Linked DNA regions of Homo sapiens: regions 1 and 3 are each linked to region 2. Evidence: promoter capture Hi-C in human tissues and cell types (Jung and others, 2019). All regions are on one chromosome and are shown on one strand. Each heading gives the region's core, a stretch centred on a gene start or on the middle of the fragment in contact. The rest is flanking DNA. Distances are from core to core; before and after follow the strand shown.

The links. The method cuts DNA at HindIII sites, captures the fragments that hold promoters and counts their contacts. A contact is called where the count stands out against the background at its distance.
Region 1: a fragment that was not itself captured here is called in contact with the fragment with the promoter of ATG7 in region 2 in 1 of the 25 tissues and cell types used here (adrenal gland).
Region 3: a contact is called between a fragment that was not itself captured here and the fragment with the promoter of ATG7 in region 2, in 3 of the 25 tissues and cell types used here (lymphoblastoid cells, mesendoderm cells and thymus).

The regions. Positions count from the first base shown.
Region 1 is chr3:11,790,629-11,794,112 of GRCh38, forward strand. All of the region lies in intron 7 of TAMM41 (TAM41 mitochondrial translocator assembly and maintenance homolog), which reads right to left. Among named protein-coding and RNA genes, the nearest start is that of TAMM41, 55 kb to the right of the region's middle. The HindIII fragment of the contact is 3,579 bases long and covers 84-3,484 here.
Region 2 is chr3:11,270,211-11,274,091 of GRCh38, forward strand. ATG7 (autophagy related 7) reads left to right here and starts at 2,187. Exons shown (of 21, transcript NM_001349232.2): 1 at 2,187-2,220. RefSeq lists enhancers at 1,785-1,834, 1,791-2,382, 2,105-2,234, 2,383-2,972. The HindIII fragment of the contact is 6,326 bases long and covers 1-3,821 here.
Region 3 is chr3:11,818,094-11,821,938 of GRCh38, forward strand. The region is part of intron 4 of TAMM41 (TAM41 mitochondrial translocator assembly and maintenance homolog); the gene reads right to left. Among named protein-coding and RNA genes, the nearest start is that of TAMM41, 27 kb to the right of the region's middle. The HindIII fragment of the contact is 6,785 bases long and covers 1-3,845 here.

The DNA of each region.
Region 1 (3,484 bases), core at 623-3,122, 520 kb after region 2:
GGATGCTCAGAGTTTCAGTGACATTCTGAGCAGACTTGTCTTTGGAGGAGGGCAGTGAGGGGCTGACCCGTGGCTCTAGGAGACCAGGGAGCTGAAGGTGATTAAAGGTCACTGTGATCAATGTAGGGGGAAATGATTCTGATTTCGGCATTTTCCGATTTAGGGCTATGGATGCCAACGGTTCCTAAGTTATTGGGATAAGTGATCCTTTTGAGTTATGAACATATTGGCAGCCTCTGAATTTAGCTCTTTCAAAAAGGTAGGACAAGGATAAGACTCTGTATGCCACTGGGTCCCCGTTCTCTCAGGCCTAAATTCCAACCCCACCTCACTGTCTCTATGTCACTGTGAAAGGCACCTGTCTGACTATGACAAATGCTGTTCCCATCACTTTCTGCCTCGTTGACTTGGAATCCCTGTTTGGATTTCTTCTCTAGGAAGTGCTTCCCTGGACCCACAGGGTGGCCCCACAGCATCTGTGCTCACTCAACACACTGTGCAGTACGTGTGGGCCGATTCACCCACGCCTCTGCCTGGACTGGGAGCTTCCTGAGGACAGGGACCTTGCCCTGTTCACCTAGGTGGCCCTGTCACCTAGTACAGGACCCAGAACACAGCAGGTGCTCTGTGAAAGCTTTTGAAATGACAAGACAAATGTGCCTCATTCGGAGAGCTGGCCCCCTAGCACCCCCATCTACTTAGTCAGGAGTGTGTGATGAAACTGGAGAAAGGCTCTCCGGGGGCTTAGGGGAAAGAAGAAAAAGGGAATAAAATAAATGGGTGTTATTTGTCAGATCTAAGAGTATCCTATCTGTGGATGCGATTATGGACTCAACTTCCTTTGTGTTGAGGGTGGGATCATTCAGTTTGTGTTTCAGGGTGTGGCCCAAAGATATGAACAGTCTTTTTCACTGTGAGACACAAACTGTGATCTGTGCTATGAGTGTAAAGTGCACACCCCTGGCAGTGCACTTTGGTGAGCATGCCGACAAGGTAACAGGTTTCGCTCTGGACATGCCTAGCACTGGGGTTTGAGTGATGGCTTGAAAATATCTGGCCCTGTTACCTGTAAACTGCTTAGTCCACTTAGAGCCTTGGAAAAGACCACTGCAGACAGTGGCAGGGGAGCAGTAAAATCATTAATGAATACTTCCAGACACTCTGGCTTCGTTTGTCTACCAGCTGACTACTTGCAAACCAACATAACCTAGTCAACAAACTCAGAGTTCCTTTCCCTGCCTCCACCCCTTTTAATTTTCTCCCTGGAGCAACCACTCTGGTAAACCCCACCCACTTCAGCATTGAGACTAGAAGCTTATTATATAAGGTGGTTTTTAAAATTCCAGCCAGAACCAACCAAAAGACCAAGCCGAATACAGGTAGTTATACATGGAAAGGTTCATATAGCAACCCCAGGGCACTGAGTCACAGCTAGAGGAGGATGCATGGGCCATGATAATTCCCAGCTCAACTTCAAAAAGCAGTTCCTGGATCTTAAACATTTAAGGTAAATACATAAAGTAGAAGAGTGTCACCATGTAGCCATTTTTTTTTTTTGTTGCTGCTAGTGGACAGAAATCTCCCTTGACTAAAACATTCTCCCTTTCATGGTTCTGCCAGTGAGACATTTTCAGAAAGACTGCAGCAGGGAAATCTGTTAGAAAGAGCACTAGAATCGGAGTCAAGAGACCTGGACTCTAGTTCCAGGTGGGCCACAAACTAACAGTGGCCTTTCCCTGGGCCTCAATTTCCTTATCTGTAAAATGACTGGGTTGGAATAGATGAGGGGTTCTCTAACAAGGGGTCCACAGATTAAGTCTGAGTGTCTGTGAACTCCCTAACACTGCAGGAAAATCTACTGTGTGTGTGCGTAGGTGCACTTCTGTGCAGGGCGTCCAGAGTTCTAGTCAGATTTTCACAGGGATCCTGGACTTGCAAAAGGCTAAGAACCAACAGATCAGAATGAAGAGTCTTTTCTGCCTTAATATTATAATTTCAACAGAGGTGGAGAACTTAAATTTCATGATTTTGGAATAGGCAAAAATTTTCTAAACAGGACACAAAAAACTGCTAAACATATAGAAAACAAAATGGATAAACTGGACTACATGAAATTATGAACTTCTTTTCACCAAAAGACACCATTAAGAGAGTGAAATGACATGGCTTACAGCCATAATCCCAACACTTAGGGAGGCCGAGGCGGGCAGACCATGAGGTCAGGAGATCAAGACCAACCTGGCCAACATGGTGAAACCCCGTCTCTACTAAAAATACAAAAAATTAGCCAGGCGTGGTGGCATGTGCCTGTAGTCCCAGCTACTTAGGAGGCTGGGACAGGGGAATCGCTTGAGCCCGGGAAGCGGAGGTTGCAATGAGCCGAGATCACGCCACTGCACTCCAGCCTGGCCACAGAGCAAGGCCCCATCTCAAAAAAAAAAAAAAAAAAAAAAAAAGAGAGTGAAATGACAAGCCACGGAGTGGGGGATTTTGACATCACATGTATCCAACAATGGAGTTGTGCCCCGACTACAGAGAGAATTCAGTAAGCAAAAGAGACAACTCAGTAGGAAAATGAGCAGAAGACTAGAATAGACGCTTCACAAAAGAGCATATCCAAATAAACAAATGAAAAATGCTCAACTTCCTCAGTCATGAGGAAAATGTAAATTAAAAGATCAATATGGTACCACTAGTCACCCACTAGAGTGCCTAAAATGAAAAAGACCTAAACAGGCATTCAGGGAGGTGCTGCAACAGAAGCTCTGCTAGTGCAAGTATAAATGTGGACGATTGTTTAGCAGTTTCTACTAAAGCTGAACAGTCACATGCTTTATCATCCAGGTATTCTACCCCTCAGTACATACCTGACAGGAATGCATACACCCACCCACCAAAAGACAGGTACAAAAATATTCACAGCAGCACTACTTCTAATAGTCCCAAGCGGGAACAACCCAAGTATCCATCAATAGTAGAATGGATACATTGCGGTATATTCACACAGCAGAATACTGCACTGGGCAGAAATGAACCACTGCTACTCCCAACACGATGAATCTCCCTATGTTATAAATGAACAGGGAAAGGCACAAAAGAGGACATGCTTATACATGGTTAAAAAATGGGTAAAACAGAACCGTGGCACTGGGAGTCAGGCTGGAGCTTACTCTCGGAGAAGCAATGCCTGTGACGGGCATGAGGGGTACTGGGGACTGGAATGACTGTATTTCTTTACCTGGGCACTAGGTCTATGAGGTGTTCCCTTTGTGGAAATTCATCAGATTTATGATTTTTGCACTTTTCTATCTATATGGAGATATTTCCTACTACCAGAAAATTTAGAATCTTTCATTTATTTGGTCACACATAGAACAAATATTTATTGAGCACCTGTATAAGCAAGACACTGAACTAGTTGCTAGGGATACTGGTACAGATAACAGCTATGGTCTCTGCCCTCACAGAGTCCACAATCCATAGA
Region 2 (3,881 bases), core at 937-3,436:
CTTAACCTTTTTGTGCTTCAGAAAATGTTCACTACAAAGAAATACCCATTCTCATGTCACTTAAATGACTCCTGGTTGCCTCCCTTGTTTACTGTGGCAAGGTCAAACACAGTCCTTCTGAATTCCCATTCTTTGCCTCATAAATGATTACAGAGCTGCTTGTCTCCATTGACCAGTTGGAAAAAATGCTTATTAACCAAACTTGGGTTAAGCTTCTTTCCTTTCCCCAGGCTCCTTACTTTAACCTACTCTCAGCTTGAACTAGCATACTGTCTCATGTGTCCGTGTGAAGAGACTACCAAACAGGCTTTGTGTGAGCAACAAGGCTGTTTATTTCACCTGGGTGCAGGTGGGCTGAGTCCAAAAAGAGAGTCAGCAAAGGGTGGTGGGATTATCATTGGTTCTTATAGGTTTTGGGATAGGCGGTGGAGTTAAAAGCAATGTTTTGGGGGTAGGGGGTGGATCTCACAAAGTACATTCTCAAGGGTGGTGAGAATTACAAAGAAACTTCTTAAGGGTGGGGGAGACTATAAAAGAACCTTCTTAAGGGTGGGGGAGATTACAAAGTACATTGATCAGTTAGGGTGGGGCAGAAACAAATCACAATGGTGGAATGTCATCAGTTAAGGCTATTTTCACTTCTGCGGATCTTCAGTTGCTGCAAGCCATCTGGATGTATACGTGCAGGTCACTGGGGATATGATGGCTTAGCTTGGGCTCAGAGACTGACACACACAACCCCTACTGAGAATAGGTTGGCCTCAAGATAAAACATTCTCTAATCTACTATCTGATCAAGCCACCCCTTCATCCCACTTCCCATATTCGGTTGTTTCCAGCCTTGTTTACCTGCCTTTGGGGAGGGTGGGGGGTGGGGGAACCCTCTTTTTCCCTAACCATTGAAACATCTGCGGATGTTTTGGTCAGAGTGATCTCACTATTGCAATAGTCTCCCTCTGCTATTGCACGGTTCCTTCTCTCCCACCTCTCTCACTTCTTGCAGTAATCCTTTCTTTTTTTTTTTTTTTGAGACGGAGTCTCGCTCTGTCGCCCAGGCTGGAGTGCAGTGGTGGGATCTCGGCTCACTGCAAGCTCCGCCTCCCGGGTTCACGCCATTCTCCTGCCTCAGCCTCCCAAGTAGCTGGGACTACAGGCGCCCGCCACCACGCCCGGCTAATTTTTTTGTATTTTTAGTAGAGACGGGGTTTCACCGTTTTAGCCGGGATGGTCTCGATCTCCTGACCTCGTGATCCGCCCGCCTCGGCCTCCCAAAGTGCTGTGATTACAGGCGTGAGCCACCGCGCCGGGCCTGCAGTAATCCTTTCTAATAAGTATCCTTATTAGTCTGGATTTGTTTTCTTATTTGCCAGAATCAAACAAACTTCAGATTACGTTCCTGGCCCAAAAGCCCTTTAACTTTCAGCAAGCCACCTAACTTTTCTTAGATTCTGTTCTTTCATATATAACTTGGGGATATGTTTCAGGACTCTTGTGAGGATTAGAGATGTAAAACCCTGAAAACATGGTGGCTAGTTAATTAATAGCAGTCATCGCTCTTGTTGTTATGAGTCTAGAGTGGTATATCAGAGTTAATTTGTGAAAGGCCTTACAGGCCAGACAGAGAAACTTGTCATAATCACTGCTGTATCTTCAACACCTGTCCAGTGCTTTGCACGCGCAGAGTATCTAACCAAGTATTGAGAGGGAATAACTTTATCTCACTGACAGTGAGGAGCTGTGAGAATGATGGCTGGTTTAGAAAAGGCAGGTTGGTCACTGTCGACGTTCACTGGCCTTTTCCTACTAAAATTCTCATCTCCTGGCTCTCCACACCTGCCACCCTGATGGCCCCTGTGCTGCGTTTGATGCCGCCTCTCCTGGAGAATGACCATGGTGATCATTCCTGTCATCCTCTGAAATCAAAAGAGAGAACGTGGGCACTTTCTTAAAAGCCTGAAGGGAATGTAGACATTCCGACATCTGGTAAGGGAGACGCTCTCCATCGCTTCCCCCGGGGGCGTCACCGCCCCCTGATGCCCCGCCCTCCTCACGACTCAAGTTCCTCCCACTTAGCTCGGTGCTAGGGGCGCATTTCCCCGGCATGCCTCTGCTCCTTTGCGCACGCGCGCCGCTTCCCAGTGGCAAGCGCGGGCAGGACCGCGTTGCGTCATCGGGGCGCGCGCCTCAGAGAGAGCTGTGGTTGCCGGAAGTTGAGCGGCGGTAAGTGAGCCGCGGCGGGCGAGGGTGTAGTGGGGTCTTGCTGGGCCGGTTTTGGAGGCCTGGAGTCAAGGGGCGAGCTCGCCAGGGAGGGCGAGGGTCACAGCAAGTCTCAGGATCCTCCTCTGCCAGTTTCTGGGTGGTCCTTCCTCCTCCAGGGACTCACTGATTCCGGCTGGCGCCCTTCGTCTGTAGCCGCGTCCCCTCAGACTGGTTCAGTCCGGGGTCTTCTGACTTGGAAGCTCGTGCTGATTTCCTAAGTCAGCCCCTCCTGTCCTCTTGGTAGGCAGTGCTCAGAATCTTCAGTGTTGGAACACGGGAGATGGGACATTTGGATTCCCAGCCTGGCTGTGTCTGGATTTGCTGTCTCTGGCACGTTCCTTCCCCATCTAAGCTGCTTTTCCATCTGCAAAATGGGAATGATAATCCGCCATTTGTTTAAGTGAGGAGGTTAAATAAGTTTACTTTCTGAGAAAGAAGATTCTCGATTCCTTGGTTACAGGGTTAGAAACTAATGCACAATAAGAATCAATCCGGTAAGGTAAATATAGGTGTTAGAACATTTGTCAGAAATAGAGTCAAACTTCTAATTTTATAAGTACAGTACTAACGTACATGATGTTGGAGAAGTACAAGCCAAACCGTGTGTGTGTGCACGTGCGTGCAGTTTCCTGATTTTTAAACACTGGCGACTGATGCCATTTTTTAAAAATTGGCAAGTAATTCTGGCGTTTAAAAACATTGGCAACTCAGTTTTTACAAAACCCTGTTCAACTGTAACCAGTCATATCTGTGGCTGTCAGTTTGGGACCTCTGGATCCCAGACTCCCTTTTTCATTGACTACTTAGATTTTTTTCTCTGACACCTCTGCCCACTGGCCAGATTTCTTCAGTGACAGAAAGCTTTCTACTTCTGGTTGCTCCTGTTTGGTCCTCCCCCAGTTCTGACTCTTAGGTTGAGCTGAAAGCAGCTACTCGGTAATCTTAGCTCACTGTTCCTCCTTCAGGCTCTTGGAATCACCCCTGCATTTAATTGCCCTATACATCATTGAAAGCTGCTAGTTTGTCTTCCTCTTCTCACCTTTTCTTCTCTAGGCTAAGCATATTTAATGTATTTGCTCATAGTAAACTTAACAGTGACAGCAAATTTTGTCATGTTTTGTTATATCCCCAGCATATAGAGCAATGCCTAGCATATTATATATGCTCAATAAATATTTGTTGGATGAATGAATAAAACAAATATTTGCCTGTTATGTGCCTGGCATTATTGTGGGCACTGGTGATCTATCAGTAAAATAAGAAGAAAAAGAACCCTGTTTCATGGCACCTTCTAATAATAGTGGTGGTGGTGGCGGTGGCGGCATTGTCAGTAAGGGTTGGTAGGTGTTTCCGATTCTGAAACGTACAGGGTCATGGGATGGACAGTAATTGGGGGGAAGCATAAAAGCTAGCTAGTCAGGGATGGCTTCCCTGAGGAAGTGACCTAACACTTGAATAAAGAAAAGTCCAGTCTTGGAATGGCTCATGTTGCTAAACTGCTTTCCCATCCCCCAACGCTGCTCCAGTCTTGTTAAGCTGCTTGCAGGTGTGTGTCACCTATAGCCCTTTGCTTCTGCTGCTTCGAACATCTCCCCTTCCTCTTCCATTTATCTTGGCCAACT
Region 3 (3,845 bases), core at 191-2,690, 550 kb after region 2:
TGAAATCACAAGAGGCTGGACACACGCAGAACCTTCTGAGTCAAGCGTGGTGAAAGCAATGTGGCTGAATCCTTTGTTGGAGAGGGAGCAAATTGTCAGGGGGAGTAGAGAGGTGGCAAGTGTAGGCAGATAACCCAGCTGCTGAGGAATCCCCTGGGGCTAGGATGACAATATAATTTATCATCCAAACTAGGTCACTTCTGAGGGTGAAGGGATCGCTATAAATAATCACACTACGACAAGTATAAACTGAGCAAACCAGGACATATGGTTACCCTCGCCAATTTCTTTTTTCTGGAGAGGGGAAGGGATCATAGAGGTCATTATTTGCCACAATGGATTTTCCTAGTGCAAACTGTTGGCTTGTTTTAGAAAAAGTAAAAATACAAGGAAGACCAACAATATGTACTTCATTGAGTAAGGAATAAAATATGCTAGGTTTTAAGCTTCAAAGGACCAACTTACACTACAATTTGGTGGAATGCAACTGGGGACTGCAAGCTTAGAAAAACAGACTTCCAGGCTGGGCGCGGTGGCTCACACCTGTAATCCCAGCACTTTGGGAAGCCGAGGCAGGCGGATCACGAGGTCAGGAGATCCAGACCATCCTGGCTAACACAGTGAAATCCCGTCTCTACTAAAAAATACAAAAAAATTAGCCAGACGTGGTGGCAGGCGCCTGTAGTCCCAGCTACTTGGGGGGGGGCCGCAGGAGAATGGCGTGAACCCAGGAGGCAGAGCTTGCAGTGAGCCGAGATCGCGCCACTGCACTCCAGCCTGGGTGATGAAGCAAGACTCCATCTCAAAAAAAAAAAAAAAAGACTTCTAAAGAGCCTCTGGAACCCGATCTTGGTGTACAGGGGGTCTGACTGTTCAGGTGAGTGAGCAGAAGCGAGTCCCAGTCCTAAAAATCTGCTCAAATATGGATGAACTTGTTTTTGTCACTATTATTTTGAAGGGAAAGAGAGTTAGATAGTTAAAACCTGGGATCACTGCTAATGAGGAGGTTGAGAAATCAGTCCTTTCACATATTGCTGTTGACTGCATAAACTGCTAAAATTCTTCTGGAAAGCACTGAAGCAAGAAACCCCATCTCTGGAGCAAGCTTAAAGAAATAAGCCAGAAACACAGAGTAAGACAGAAACACACAGGTAACGTTTACCGAGCATCTGGTAAATACCAGCCACTGTGCCAAGTGTGTTGTGGTATTGCTTCATTTAATACACACAGCTCTCCTCTCAGGTAGATAGGATTCTATCCCCATTCATACACAAGGGAACAAAGACAGTGATTAAGAAACTTGCGTAAGGTTTCCAGGAAGTAAAAATATACTACATATATAAAATTGCTCACTGAAGCACTACTTATAATACTGAAAGCATCCCAAATGTCCAACAACAGGGGAAAGAATGCACTATGATGGCATATGGTTACTATCACAGACAGTAATCACACACAACAAGATGGAAAGTGATCATTTAATATGCAGTAAGAAACAAAGAGATACAAAAGTATAACAGGCTGGGCATGGTGGCTCACATCTATAGTCCTAGCACTTTGTGAGGCCAAGGCCGGGGGAATGTTTGAGCTCAGGAGTTCGAGACCAGCCTGGGCAACATAGCGAGACTCTGTCTCTATGTAATTTTTTTTTTAAGCATACCAAAACAAAAAAAACTTCATAAAAAATGAGAAAAACAAGACAAAGAGACTATATAAAAATGCTTATTTTTGCTCTAATAAAATACATTTATTGTGGGTTTTTGCATGTGTGCTTTAATTTGCTATCTCATTTGGTCATGGCAAAGCTCCATAAAATAAGTACTATTATTCTTAATTTTACAGATGAGGAGATGGACGTGCAAAGACAACATGCCCCAGGTCCAACTGCCTCTCGGTATTAGGGTAGTGAAATTTTAGGTGATGATTTTACTCTATAATTTCCCCCCATTTCCCTCACTTCTATAATGCTGGCATATTACTTTCTAGCATTTTAAAACACATTTATGGGATACACAGATGATGACGTGACAAATGTGAATGGAGTGGTGGCTGAGTTAACTTCCAACTGTGTAAATCCTTACACGTATAAAAATGGATTCCATTAATCTTTGAAGAGATGAAATGTCATCAAATTCTGACTCTAACAAGGCTGGCCCTGAAGTGAAAGATCAGTTTCTAAAACTGTTGAATTCTAAATATTTGTGTCATTCCTTCTTTCTGTACATTCCACAAACAAAAAGTTCCTCAATTTTAGACAGTCACTTTCTGAGAGAAGGATTTACCATTTTAAAATATCAAGGATTATGTTTTACAATCCAAATCTTCCCCCTAAAAGAACAATTGCATGCCATGATTAAAGGACCTAGAAAACACTCCAGGCTCTCGGAGAACAAGGACCGGGGCTTATTTATGTCTGCATCCTTAGCTCCTTGTGCACTGCCTGGCACAGGGAACACATACATCAATAAATGTGTGCAGAACTGAATTTCTCTCACTGGTGTGCAGCTGAACTAGCTCAACCGCAGGGGATAGGAAGCAAATGGGCTTATGACTCATTTCTTCAGAACAAAATGAATAACATCATGGGCACAGCACGAACCAGCATCTGATCATAACAATCAATTTTTCTTACCTTGGGAGATTTGTTTTCAACAAAACTACAGCAATGGATTAAAACTGACTGCTGACTTTATTTTATGCCTCTAGAACTGCCAGTACAATAGGCATCCAAAAGGATTTCTCCTTGACCTTGAAATGATACAAACTCCAAGGCCTGCAAGCCACCTGTAGGTGGCCTTCCCTGTGATTCAGGCATGCAGCCAGCAGTCAGGGACCTCATTACAAGTATGCAGATGTGAAGGGCTGCACAGTACAGCGGCAAGGCCCTGGCTTTCAAGTCTGGCAATGTCCCAGGGTGACTGAGGTCAAGTTACTTAAACCTTCTGAGTCCTTCACTGTAAAATGGCTTAATCACACTAACCTTACAAAGTTGCTTTCAGATTTAAGGAGTTAGGGCAGCAGTCCCCAAACTTTCTGGCACCAGGAAGAGGTTTTGTGGAAGACAATTTTTCCATGGATGTGGGTCCAGGGGACAGTGGTTTCAGGATGATTCAAGCACATTACATTTATTGTGCACTTCATTTGTTATTATTACATTGTAATATATAATGAAAGAATTATACAACTCACCATAATGTAGAATCAGTGGGAGTCCTGAGATTATTTTCCTGCAACTAGACAGTCCCTCTGGGGGTGATGGGAGACAGTGACAGATCAGGCATTTGATTCTCATAAAAAGCCTGCAACCTAGATTCCTCATATATGCAGTTCAAATAGGTATTGCGCTCCTATAAGAATCCAACGCAGCTGCTGATCTGACAGGAGGCGGAGCTCAGGCAGTAATGCAAGTGATGGAGATTGGCTGTCAATACAAATGAAGCTCGCCCACCACTCACCTCCCGCTGTGCGTCCTGGTTCCTAACAGGGTTCCCAAGGGTTGGGGAACCCAGAGTTAAGGTATTAGAGAATGCTTTGTAAGTAGTAAAGCAGATACTACTTATGATATGTATATAGCATAGTCGAAGGATGGAGGGTAGAGGAAGCGCTGGGTCTTGGAGATAATAATTACCGGCTAACTTTTCTCCCTTTAAACGAATTGCAAGACTGCTGTCATTTCAGTTCAGTGAATATCTGAGTGGCTACAAAGTACCAGGAGCTGTGCTAGGCAATGGAGATCCAGGTTGGGCAACCCTAATCTGAACACCGAAAATGCAAAATACCCCCAAACCTGGAAACCTTTTGAGCACTGGCAGGACACCACAAGTGGAAAATTCCACACCTGACCT